Linked DNA regions of Homo sapiens: regions 2 and 3 are each linked to region 1. Evidence: promoter capture Hi-C in 16 types of primary human blood cells and fetal thymus (Javierre and others, 2016). All regions are on one chromosome and are shown on one strand. The core of a region is centred on a gene start or on the middle of the fragment in contact, and the rest is flanking DNA. Distances in the headings are between cores, read along the strand shown. Region 1 holds the start of MYL5 (myosin light chain 5). Region 2 has its middle 65 kb from the start of ZNF732. Region 3 overlaps DGKQ (diacylglycerol kinase theta).

Evidence for each region. The method cuts DNA at HindIII sites, captures the fragments that hold promoters and counts their contacts. A CHiCAGO score of 5 or more calls a contact.
Region 2: a contact is called between a fragment that was not itself captured here and the fragment with the promoter of MYL5 in region 1, in 1 of 17 cell types (M1 macrophages). The highest score is 7.2, in M1 macrophages.
Region 3: a fragment that was not itself captured here is called in contact with the fragment with the promoter of MYL5 in region 1 in 2 of 17 cell types (neutrophils and fetal thymus); the score reaches 6.0 in neutrophils.

What each region holds. Positions count from the first base shown.
Region 1 is chr4:672,291-676,168 of GRCh38, reverse strand. It overlaps MYL5 (myosin light chain 5), which reads right to left and starts at 1,627. Exons shown (of 9, transcript NM_002477.2): 1 at 1,486-1,627; 2 at 1-96. ATP5ME (ATP synthase membrane subunit e) reads left to right here and starts at 1,893. Exons shown (of 4, transcript NM_007100.4): 1 at 1,893-1,957; 2 at 2,203-2,257; 3 at 2,768-2,866; 4 at 3,650-3,733. The coding sequence starts at 1,922. The coding sequence ends at 3,669. RefSeq lists enhancers at 1,057-1,126, 1,004-1,761 and a silencer at 1,337-1,606. The HindIII fragment of the contact is 4,723 bases long and covers 1-3,716 here.
Region 2 is chr4:238,301-242,178 of GRCh38, reverse strand. It overlaps the pseudogene ZNF876P. Among named protein-coding and RNA genes, the nearest start is that of ZNF732, 65 kb to the left of the region's middle. The HindIII fragment of the contact is 4,026 bases long and covers 1-3,878 here.
Region 3 is chr4:969,990-973,051 of GRCh38, reverse strand. DGKQ (diacylglycerol kinase theta) reads left to right here. Exons shown (of 23, transcript NM_001347.4): 2 at 1,980-2,059. Among named protein-coding and RNA genes, the nearest start is that of DGKQ, 2.0 kb to the left of the region's middle. RefSeq lists a silencer at 1-104 and enhancers at 339-979, 2,816-3,062. The HindIII fragment of the contact is 1,429 bases long and covers 1,098-2,526 here.

The sequences.
Region 1 (3,878 bases), core at 378-2,877:
GCCAAGATGGTTCTGTGCCTTGTGGATCCAGTGTGCACCTGCGGCTTCCTCAGCGAGCAGTAGACACGGGGAGGGCTGGAGTTTGCTTCTGGCCCCCTGAGGACAGGGTTCAGGCAGAGGCCTCAGGCAGGAGTCTTCAGGGACTGCCAGCCAACCTCACAGAAGCTGGAGAAAAGATCAGGTGGCCCTACAGCAAGTACCTAACCTTTTTGGCGCCTGGGACAGGTTTCACGGAGGACAGTTTTTCCGTGTTGGGGAGGAAGGTTTCGGGATGAAACTATTCCACCTCAGTTCATCAGGCATTAGATTCTCACCAGAGCGCAATCCAGATCCAAGTGCGCAGCTCACAGTAGGGTTCACGCTCCTATGGGAATCTGATGCCCAGGCTGATCTGAAAGTGGGTGGAGCTCGGGCAATCATGCTCCCTCACCTCGTCCTGTGCTGCCCGGTTCCTAACGGGCCACAAGCTGGTACTGGTCTGCACCTGGGGGTTGGGGACCCCTGCCCTATAGGACTGGCCTTGGTATACCCAGCTCAGGAAACAGAGCCCAGTGACTTCCTAGTTTCTCAGCCAGAGAGGCCCAGGCCCTGGACCCCAGAGCAAGCCAGGAGAGGGGGCAGAGGCGACTTAGGCCCGGACAGGTAGCCCAGGCCGCCAGGATCACGGGTCCTCCCCATGCTTGCTTCAAGAGTCCTGGAGTTTGTGATGCTGCACCTTAGCGAGACCCGAGCCATAGTTCTCCAGTTGCTTCTGCCTGTAGCAGTGCAGGGCCAGGAGGGGACACAGGAGGCCTTGCGTCACTACTGCATGGGGCCAAAGGGGGCCCGAGGGTGGCCCAGCACGGGCAGCATGGCTGCCGCCAGGAAGACCCAGAACGTGGAGGGGGTGCCAGGCTCCTGCCTAGACTCCAAGCCTGGTGTCCATGGGGCTGGCGGGTCAGCACTTCGGGCACAGCGGGGAGGCTGCATAGGCACCGCAGGCCCCATCTCTGGGCAGCTGTGGGAGACACACAGCTACCGGGAGGTGGACAGAGGCCAGCAAAGACCAGTGTGGGGCTCAGTGGTCCCCAGGCCTGGGCCGGGGCAGGCCCTTGGAGCCGTGGAGTCCTGAGGCCTGGAGTCGGGGGACCCAGGGAGCAGCCTCTGTTGGGGGCTGGTCTTCCCAAGAAGATCCCAGCCCCTCTTCGGGACAGAAGTGATGGGGCATCCTGGGGTGAGGAAGCTCCAGCTCCGGGATGAAGGGCGCCCCGTGCTCCCGGGCAGAGCAGCCGCAGGAAGAGGGGCCTGGAGGCCATGCTCCCGCGGGCCGCGGAATCCAACGCGGCCCGGCCGGCGACAGACACTACTGCCTTGTAGGAGAAGGACCTGCCCGGGGAGCCACCTGCACTCGGCTCACACTCCGCTCCCAGGACCCCCAGGTCCCTGCCCAGGCCACCCTCGGGTGGGCGCGGTCCGCGGGGCTGGACCCGCCCGAGCCGCCCTGACCTCAGGCCTCCGACGCTCCGCGCAAGAAGACAGAGTGCGCCCCGGCCCGCAGTCTGGGGTGTGGACACACGGCCAGGACGCGGACGGCGGGGCCTCGGCAGCAGCGCGGGGAAACAGCGGACCCCCAGCCCTGCGGGGAAAGGAAACCCCCCGCCCACTCGGCGCAGATCCCGCCTCACGCAGCAACTGCGCAGGCGCAGCCGATGATCCTCCGCGCACTCCCCAGCCTTTGTGCGCGTGCGCCTCACGTGACGTCACCGCCGCGCGGGGGCGCGCAGTCACCCTTCGGTCGCCAGGGGGCGCGGCCCCCCGCTCTCTCGCCGCTGACGGCGCATGCGTGCGCCCAGCTCCGCCTTTGCCTCCAAGGCTTTGCTGGCTTGTGCGGCATCCTGCTCCGTCTGCAGGTTGTGCTTCCGGTGCGGAGGTCAGGGACAAGATGGTGCCACCGGTGCAGGTCTCTCCGCTCATCAAGGTGATCCAGGCTTTGCAGCCGCCGCCCAGTGCTCTGGGCCCCCCCGTGTCCCGCCCCGCAGCTCCGACCCCGCGGGCTGCGACCCCCGGCCCCCGCCCCCATGATCCTCGCCCCGTGACCCTCGCCCGGCGACCGGACCCCCACCCCTCCTGCGACCTCTGCCCAGCGACCCCGCCCCCCCTCCTCCCGCGACCCCCGTCCCGCGAGCCCCGTTTCGCGCCGCCTCTGACCAACCTCTTTCGCAGCTCGGCCGCTACTCCGCCCTGTTCCTCGGTGTGGCCTACGGAGCCACGCGCTACAGTGAGTGACCGCGGGCGGGGCCGGGGCGGGGTCTGCTCGGCTTTCCTGTGGAGCTCCTGTGCTATTTGGAGAACTCCAGCTCTGGAAGGGGGCTTGGGACGCATGCGAGGCTGCAGGACCGTGTCCTCCACCGAGCGTGACCCCGATAGTGGAATCAGCTCACCCAAAGCTCAGGCTTCTGAGGCCCGGGCGGGGGACTCGAAAACGGCTGCTTCTTGGTGAAAACGGGTGCTAAATGGCTGTTCGAGTGCTGAGGTCTTGATGGGAGGCAGTCCCTGTTCGCAGAGGACGAGTGAGCCAGTGCGTGAGCGGGTGGGCAGCAGGGGCCCTGTAGCCTCTGGGTTGGACTCGTCAGGGTGAAGGTCAGGCGTTGACTCGCATTAACATAAAGAGCGGGAACAGCAGGTGCGTCTGGTTTACAGCGTCGCTGAAGATACCTTGACCTGTGGACTCAGTTCCTTTTGTACAGCATTTCCAGTGAATTTTATTCTCCTGCATTCCGCCAAACAGATTACCTAAAACCTCGGGCAGAAGAGGAGAGGAGGATAGCAGCAGAAGAGAAGAAGAAGCAGGATGAACTGAAACGGATTGCCAGAGAATTGGCAGAAGGTACGAGTGACACTGGCTCTTATAGATTGTCCCTCCCAGGTTTGTGCAGGGATAAGGAAAATGGAGGAGGACATTTAAGCAGAGCTAAGTAGATGCGGATTGTTTAAAAATGGGGAAGCTGGCCAGGCGTGGTGGCTCATGCCTGTATCCCAGCACTTTGGGAGGCCAAGGCGGGCAGATCACCTGAGGTTAGGAGTTCAAGACCAGCCTGACCAACATGGTGCAACCCTGTCTCTACAAAAATTAGCCGGGCATGGCCCGGTGCGGTGGCTCATGCCTGTAATCCTAGCACTTTGGGAGGCTGAGACAGGCAGATTGCCTGAGCTCTGGAGTTCGAGACCAGCCTGGGCAAGATGGTGAAACCCCATTTCTACTAAAATACAAAAAATCAGCCGGGCATGGTGGCAGGCACCTGTAATCCCAGCTACTCAGAAAGCTGAGGCATGAGAATTGCTTGAACCCGGGAGGCGGAGGTTGCAGTGAGCTGAGATCACGCCACTGCACTCCAGCCTGAGCAGCAAAGTGAAATTCTGTCTAAAAAAAATTAGCCAGGCATGATGGCGGGTGCATGTAATCCCAGCTACTCAGAAGGCTGAGGTGGGAGAATCGCTTTAACCTGGGATGCAGAGGTTGCAGTGAGCTGAGATTGCGCCATTGGGTGACAGAGCGAGACTCCGTCTCAAAACAAAAAAAAAAAAAAAAAAAATAACTGGGAAGCTGAAGTGGTCTTTTTAGGTTGCCTGAGTGGTAACATGTGCTTTTCTTCTAACCTTCCGGCCCAAGATGACAGCATATTAAAGTGAGTGACCCTGCGACCCACTCTTTGGACCAGCAGCGGATGAATAAAGCTTCCTGTGTTGTGTGATACTCCGGCTCCTCATTTGCTGTCGCTGGTTGTGGAATTCCTAGGTTGAAGTTCTGTCCACCTCCCAGTTCACGTGAGGTGGAAGACAGGGAGGGGGTTTCAAAAGAATCCACATTACCATTCACAGACCCAGAATGCATCATGTAA
Region 2 (3,878 bases), core at 628-3,127, 430 kb after region 1:
CACCTGTGGGTATTTCTCATCAGGTGGTATGAGAGACTGAGAAAAGAAATAAGACACAGACACAAAGTATAGAGAAAGAACAGTGGGCCCAGGAGACCGGTGCTCAACATACGGAGGACCTGCACCGGCACCAGTCTCTGAGTTTCCTCAGTGTTTGTTTATTAATTACTATTTTCACTATCTCAGCAAGGGGAATGTGGCAGGAAAACAGGGTGACAGTGGGGAGAAGGTCAGCAAGAAAACATGTGAGCAAAGGGATCTGTGTCACAAATAAGTTCAAGGGAAGGTACTATGCCTGGATGTGCACGTAGGCCAGATTTATGTTTCTCTCCACCCAAACATCTCAGTGTAGCAAAGAGTAACAGAGCAGCATTGCCACCAGCATATCTTGCCTCCAGCCACAGGGCGGTTTTCTCCTATCTCAGAATAGAATAAATGTATGATCGGGTTTTACACTGAGACATTGCGTTCCCAGGGGCATGCAGGAGACAGAGGCCTTCCTCTTATCTCAACTGCAAGAGGCCTTCCTCTTTTACTAATCGTCCTCAGCACAGACCCTTTATGGGTGTCAGGCTGGGGGATGGTCAGGTCTTTCCCTTCCCACGAGGCCATATCTCAGGCTGTCTCAGTTGGGGGAAACCTTGAACAATACCCAGGCTTTCTTGGGCAGATGTCCTTGCGGCTTACCGCAGTGCATTGTGCCCCTGGTTAATTGAGAATGGAGAATGGTGATGACTTTTACCAAGCATACTGCCTGTAAACATATTGTTAACAAGGCATGGCCTTCACAGCCCTAGATCCCTTAAACCTTGATTCCATACAGCACATGTTTCTGTGAGCACAGGGTTGGGGCTAAAGTTACAGATTAACAGCATCTCAAGGCAAAACAATTGTTCAAAAGACAGATCAAAATGGAGTTTGTTATGTTTTCCTTTTCTACATAGACACAGTAACAGTCTGATCTCTCTTTCTTTTCCCTGGCATTTTCATGTTTTTCATCACAATTAAATATTTAGATCTACCTAAAAAGGTTACAGTCTTTAAAAATCACCTTCAAGTAAGAAAAGTGTTTCTCTCACAGAATAACATAATAAAATAATAGATGGTAATTTTACACTGACTACTCACCCACACAAGAAAACAATGATGAACACCCAAGTAAATAAATACTTTATTTATTTATTTATTTTTTTGAGATGGAGTCTTGCTCTGTCACCCAGGCTGGAGTGCAGTGGTGCGATCTCGGCTCACTGCAAGCTCCACCTCCCGGGTTCACGCCATTCTCCCGCCTCAGCCTCCTGAGTAGCTGGGACTACAGGCAACCACCACCACGCCTGGCCCAATTTTGTTTTTGTATTTTTAGTAGAAATGGGGTTTCCCCATGTTAGCCAGGATGGTCTCGATCTCCTGACCTTGTGATCCGCCCGCCTCGGCCTCCGAAAGTGCTGGGATTACAGGCGTGAGCCACTGTGCCTGGCTGATAAATAATTTATAAACAACGTAGGGGCAATATATATACAGGCAAATACCACATAGATAACTTTCTTGGCAAGAGAAATGTCTGATTTATATATATGTTTTTTAATTTGCTCGAAGTGAAACCCAATGATATTTATTTGAATTAAACACCACATGGTCATAAGAGGTAGAGAGGTTGTTGTTGTTGTTGTTGTTTTGAGACATTGTTTCACACTTGTTGCCCAGGCTGGTGGGCAATGTTGCAATCTTGGCTCACTGAAACCTCCGCCTCCTGGGTTCAAGTGATTCTCCTGCCTCAGCCTCCCAAGTAGCTGGGATTACAGGCATGCGTCACTACGCCTGGCTAATTTTGTGTTTTTAGTAGAGACAGGGTTTCTCCACATTGGTCAGGCTGGTCTTGAACTCCTGGCCTTATGATCTGCCCGCCTTGAGTTCCCAAAGTGCTGGGATTACAGGCATGAGACACTGCCCCTGGCCAAGGTACAGGGTTTAAAGTTACCATACAAATATAAAGATTAAAAACAAACCACTAAAATGGGGTTGAAAACAAGAATAAAAATTTCTGACCTTTAAAATATTGAATATCATATAGATGTATCATAAAAACAATCCTTTACAGTTTTCAACTGTGACTATGTACTTATGAAGAGCTGGCATTTTGAATCTTTGGCATTCAAGGTACAGCAATAAAAGAAAATAATCTCAATAATTAATAAAATGCTCTGATGAGAATGAGGCATTTCAATACATTTACTTATTCCACAATTTGAAAATTTAAGCATTTTATTTCAGACATTTTGAATTTGAAATAAAAAATATTTGACACAGAACAATCAAAGTAAAACATACAAGGGGAGTGACATAGCAAGATGGCAGAATAGGAGGTTCTCTACCTAAATCTTATATGGTTATAAAAAAATGCAGCAGTTATGCCCTGGCAAATGAACCTTTATAGGAACTTTGGAATCCATGTCAAAAGGTGTAAACCCAAGACAGGAGGGCTGTATTGAGAGGGCATGCCCTTGCTTGAGTGGCATGCTTGCCCATCATAGTCCCAGCTACAAAATAAAATATGATTAATTCTCATTGTAAGTATAGCTGTAGGCCATTTGGTTTTGTTTATGCCACTAGCACCATCTGCCAAGACACCAAGGAGGATTCATAATGTCCTGTGTCTCAGGTGAAAGGACTTTAGATGTTGCTCCTCTCTGTAGTCTCCTAATTAGCCCCTTGCACACATCTATCATGATGTGGAAGAAATCCTGCACATGCAGGAACCGACAGAAACATCCATCTGTGCCCCTGGATGTAGGCTTGCCGATATTTATTTAATGGTGGATCTTGATGTGGCACTATCATCTGGCTCCCAGTCCATGAAACCAAAGTCCAGAAGCAGTTTTTCCTAACCTGGGACCTGCCAAAAAACACACCTATATGTGCCCCTGTAGGCATGCTGGCTGACTTTATTCCCACTGTGAATCTTGAAGCAGTCCTAAAACCCAGCTCCAGTCCCAAAACCTACCTCCAGTCCCAAAACCTACCTCCAGTCCCTGTCAACTAAAGTCTGGGAGCAGTCCTGCCCACCCAGGAATCTGGAGGGAGAAATGCCGTGAACCCAGAAACAAACCTGAAGACTTTGGTCTCAGCTGTGTATCCTGAAGCAGCCCTATGAATCAGTTCCACACCCTCTCAGCTGTGACCAAGGGTCAGTACTTCTCATCTAGGAATCTGTCCAATGACTGGGTTAGAAGATTTCTAAAAACCCAGCAAGAGCCACACAGCAGAAGCCATACCTGCTCACATGGATTATATCAGCTCTGTCATCTGCATATACAACTGGAGACTTTTTTTTCTCAGCACCAGTCTTACTGATCAAGATCCTGAAGAAAGTTCAGTCTTCCTAGAAAATAGACAGAATCCACAACAGTCTGATGCCCTAATAACAGGTCTGCCAAGCATGAACTTCACTGTGATCCAGATCCAATGCACCTTACTGCAAACTCACTGGAAATCTCATCAGCACAGAGATCCAATAGGAGAAAATATTTACCACCCCAAACTAATCTATAATGACTGCAAGAGATATTTACTCCTTCAGATGCAAGGACATAAAAACAAGGCATCACAGACCATGAAAGATCAGGCAAATGTAACACCACCAAAAGAAACTAAAAATTCTCTAGTAACCACTTACAGTAAAACACAGATCTAAAAAATGGCTAAGAATTCAAAATAATTATCTTAAAGAATCTCAATGAGATGCAAAAAAACCACACATTACTAAATTTTTTTTGCAACAACGTATGAACAGAATCACAATTATAATAAAGAGAAACCATTAAAACAGAACCAGTTAGATATGCTGGAGCTGAAGTACACAATAGGAGATCTAAAATATT
Region 3 (3,062 bases), core at 563-3,062, 300 kb before region 1:
CCGTGGGGCCGCTCCAGGCTGCGGGCTTCCTCACCTGGGAGGTGCGGACAGCATCTCCATAGTGCCGCGCGATGGCTGCGACCCAGGGGCTGTGCCTGATGCGAGCGGGACCTCAGCTGGGGTCCCCATGGCCGGCTTCCTCTCCCAGTGGCTGGGGCAGCAGGTGTGGCTAAGCAGGGCTGGCCTGGGCCCCTGGCCCTAGCCCTTCTCATGCTGTGGCCCAGAGTCCCAGCCTCCTGGAGAGCCAGGCCGGGCCCTGCCGTCCCGGTGCGCGTGTCCCAGCCCTGCTCCACCCAGCTGCCCAGCTCTTGCTGGGGTGAGGACAGCCCTTCCCTGTTCTGGGCCCGGGTGCTCCCAGGGCTGGCTCTCATCTTCCCCCGCGGCAAGCAGGCGGGCCCCGGGGACTACAGCCCAGCCTCTGGAGGGAGCGAGGGACAGGGGGACCACAGCCCAGCCTCTGGAGGGAGCGAGGGACAGGGGGACCACAGCCCAGCCTCTGGAGGGAGCGAGGGACAGGACCGGAGTTCTGGACGTTTGACACTTACTGTGTCCTGGCCAGGGACGCTGAGGTGGGAGGGGCTATCCTTAGCCTCAGGCCTTTCTCTGGGGATAGGGGTCCACTCAGGTCAGGGTCCGCAGAGGAGACTGTCCCCTCACACGGGGATGTCGTCTGTGGTGGAAACGGCATGGTTGTTCTGACCCCCAGGGCTGCACAAGGTGGCCTGGCCCGCCAGCTTCTTTGTCACGTCAGAGCATGGCACAGCCATGCCTGCTGCCTGGGGATGCCAGGGGCTTCCCCAGAGGTGGGGAGTGTGCATGTGTGGCTGAGGCAGCTCCCGACTTGAGGCCAGACTCCGGGTCCCCTCCCCCTTCGGAGGGGGCAAAAGGGCCCTCCTGGGCAGCACCCGTGGAAGAGGGGCCAGCAGCGGTATGGGAAGGAGGGCACCCTCCCCGCCAGGAGACCCAAGCGTGGGGCGTGGGGTGAGCAGGCCCTGTCTCCATGGCAGAGGAGGGACCTGGGTGCTGCCTGTCCCCCCTTCTCTCGGTGGACCCTGGCCTGCTTCCAGAGCTTTTCTCTTAAGCTGCCAGGAGAAGCTTCTCCCGGTCCCATCTGGAGACTGGGGTGGCTAGGGCTGCAGCAGGTGAAGGGCGGCACCAGCGGGGCCTTCTGGAAGAGCTCCCTGTCCCAGCTGGACTGCCTGGGGCTCCGTGGCACAACCTTCACCCGGGGCTGTCTTGGCAGTTGTGTCACTGGGTGCCCTGCCCACTCCCAGCCCCCGCAGCCTTTGCCCCAGCCCAGGGTTCCTGCCCTCCCTTCTGCCCCGGCCCCACCCTCCTGTCTGTTTTACTGCTGGGGTGTGGCGCTTGCTCCTCTTATGCCCTCCTGAGCACCCCGCCGGCTCAGGTGCTCCCTGGGTCCTATGCACACAGCCAGAGCTCCTTGGGAGGCTTGGGGCTGTCCACTCCCCAGCGGCTCCTGCCTCCCAGAGCCCTCACCTGCCTTGGGTGGCTCTCGGTCTCAGGCACGGTGCACAGCACGTAGCAGGGACAATTAGGGGTATGCGTAGTTTCGGGGGAGTGAGACACAGATGTCCTTGGTAAAGCCAATCTGCCGAAGGCCGAGAAGCCCCTGCCACCTGGCGAACCTGGTGAGCCCAGGGCTGCCCCTTGAGAGGCCCAACTGCAGAGGCAGGAGGAGTGCTGGGCCTACGTGCGAAGGGGAGGGACTGCTCTCTGGATGAGAGGATACACTCATTGTCCTCCAGGATGGTCAGGACCACCCAGGTTCTTGCTCCTGGGCTCCTGGGCTGCAGGCTCTCTCCAATGAGTGGGCAGGGTGGTGGGGGAACTCGAGGACCACAGGGCCCCTGGTGCAGCATGGTGGGTATGGCAGTCATTGCCCTGGGGCCTCTAACTTCCTGGGTAGGACAGCCATTGGGTAGGACAGGGGCCAACTCACACAGTGCTCATTCCCACAGTCTGCAATTTCATGTCTCATGAGAAGTGCCTGAAGCACGTGAGGATCCCGTGCACGAGTGTGGCACCCAGCCTGGTCCGGGTGAGTGTGGGGCTGGGTGTTGCACCTGCAAGAGGCTGGGGGATGTGTCAGCTCTCGTAGGGTCGAGGCACTGAAAACCTTCATGTCAGACGTTAGTGATACCTGCAGTTGAAAGGCAAAGGGCAGATACTGCTCGGGATTAAAAGGCTGAGCACCCTGCATGGATCTGCAGGGAATGATGGTGATAAAAGCCAGTCCCCGAGGTCGCAAATAGCAAGATCCTGTCCATAGAATGTGCTCAAAATGACGAAACTAAAGGGAGCACAGATGTAGAGAGGTTTCCAGGCGGAGAAGTGGGCGTGGCTGTGACATGCAGCGTGAGGGCTCCTGGGGGGGATGGAGATTTCGGCATCTGGCGTGACCTCAGTTTGCAAGATCACACACTTAGGGGAGCTGACAAAGGCTTCAGGGGGTCTGTTCAGTTTCCTCACAGCTATGTGTGAACCCACAAGCATCTCAAGGAAGCTTGAATAAAAAGCAAAGGCAGGAAGCCTGGGTGCCTGAGGGTGTCTTGGCCACCACCCTCCCTCTAAGGGCTCTGGGTGGGGCAGGGAGGTGACTGGCCCAGGTCACTGCAGGGCACAGGGGACTTCCCTTCTCTGGTGACAGTGGTGACAGCAGGGACATGTAGGAAGGGCCAGGCTTATTCCTCCCTCAGCTGTCAGCGTCGCCGTCTTCAGACTGAGGCCCCCCAAGTCCGCATTCCCTGATGCGTTCAGGCTGCAGGTGGGGCGCAGGCCGCGAGGCAGGCCCGGGTGTGCAGCAGGACGGGAAGCCAGGCCAGCAGGCACACCTGCCACTGGCGGGCATCCGGCTGCGCCGTCCCCTCTAATGTCTGACGCCCTGTTCCTAATGATGCAGTTCCCCGGGTGTGAGCAGGAGGCCTTAGGCCGGTGGTCCTGGTGGTGGCCGACACCCTGGTGATTCCACACTGGCTTGGGCGGCCCCTCGTCATGTGGACGGCCCGAGGCTGCCGCTTTTTAAAATTGATTTTAATGTCTTC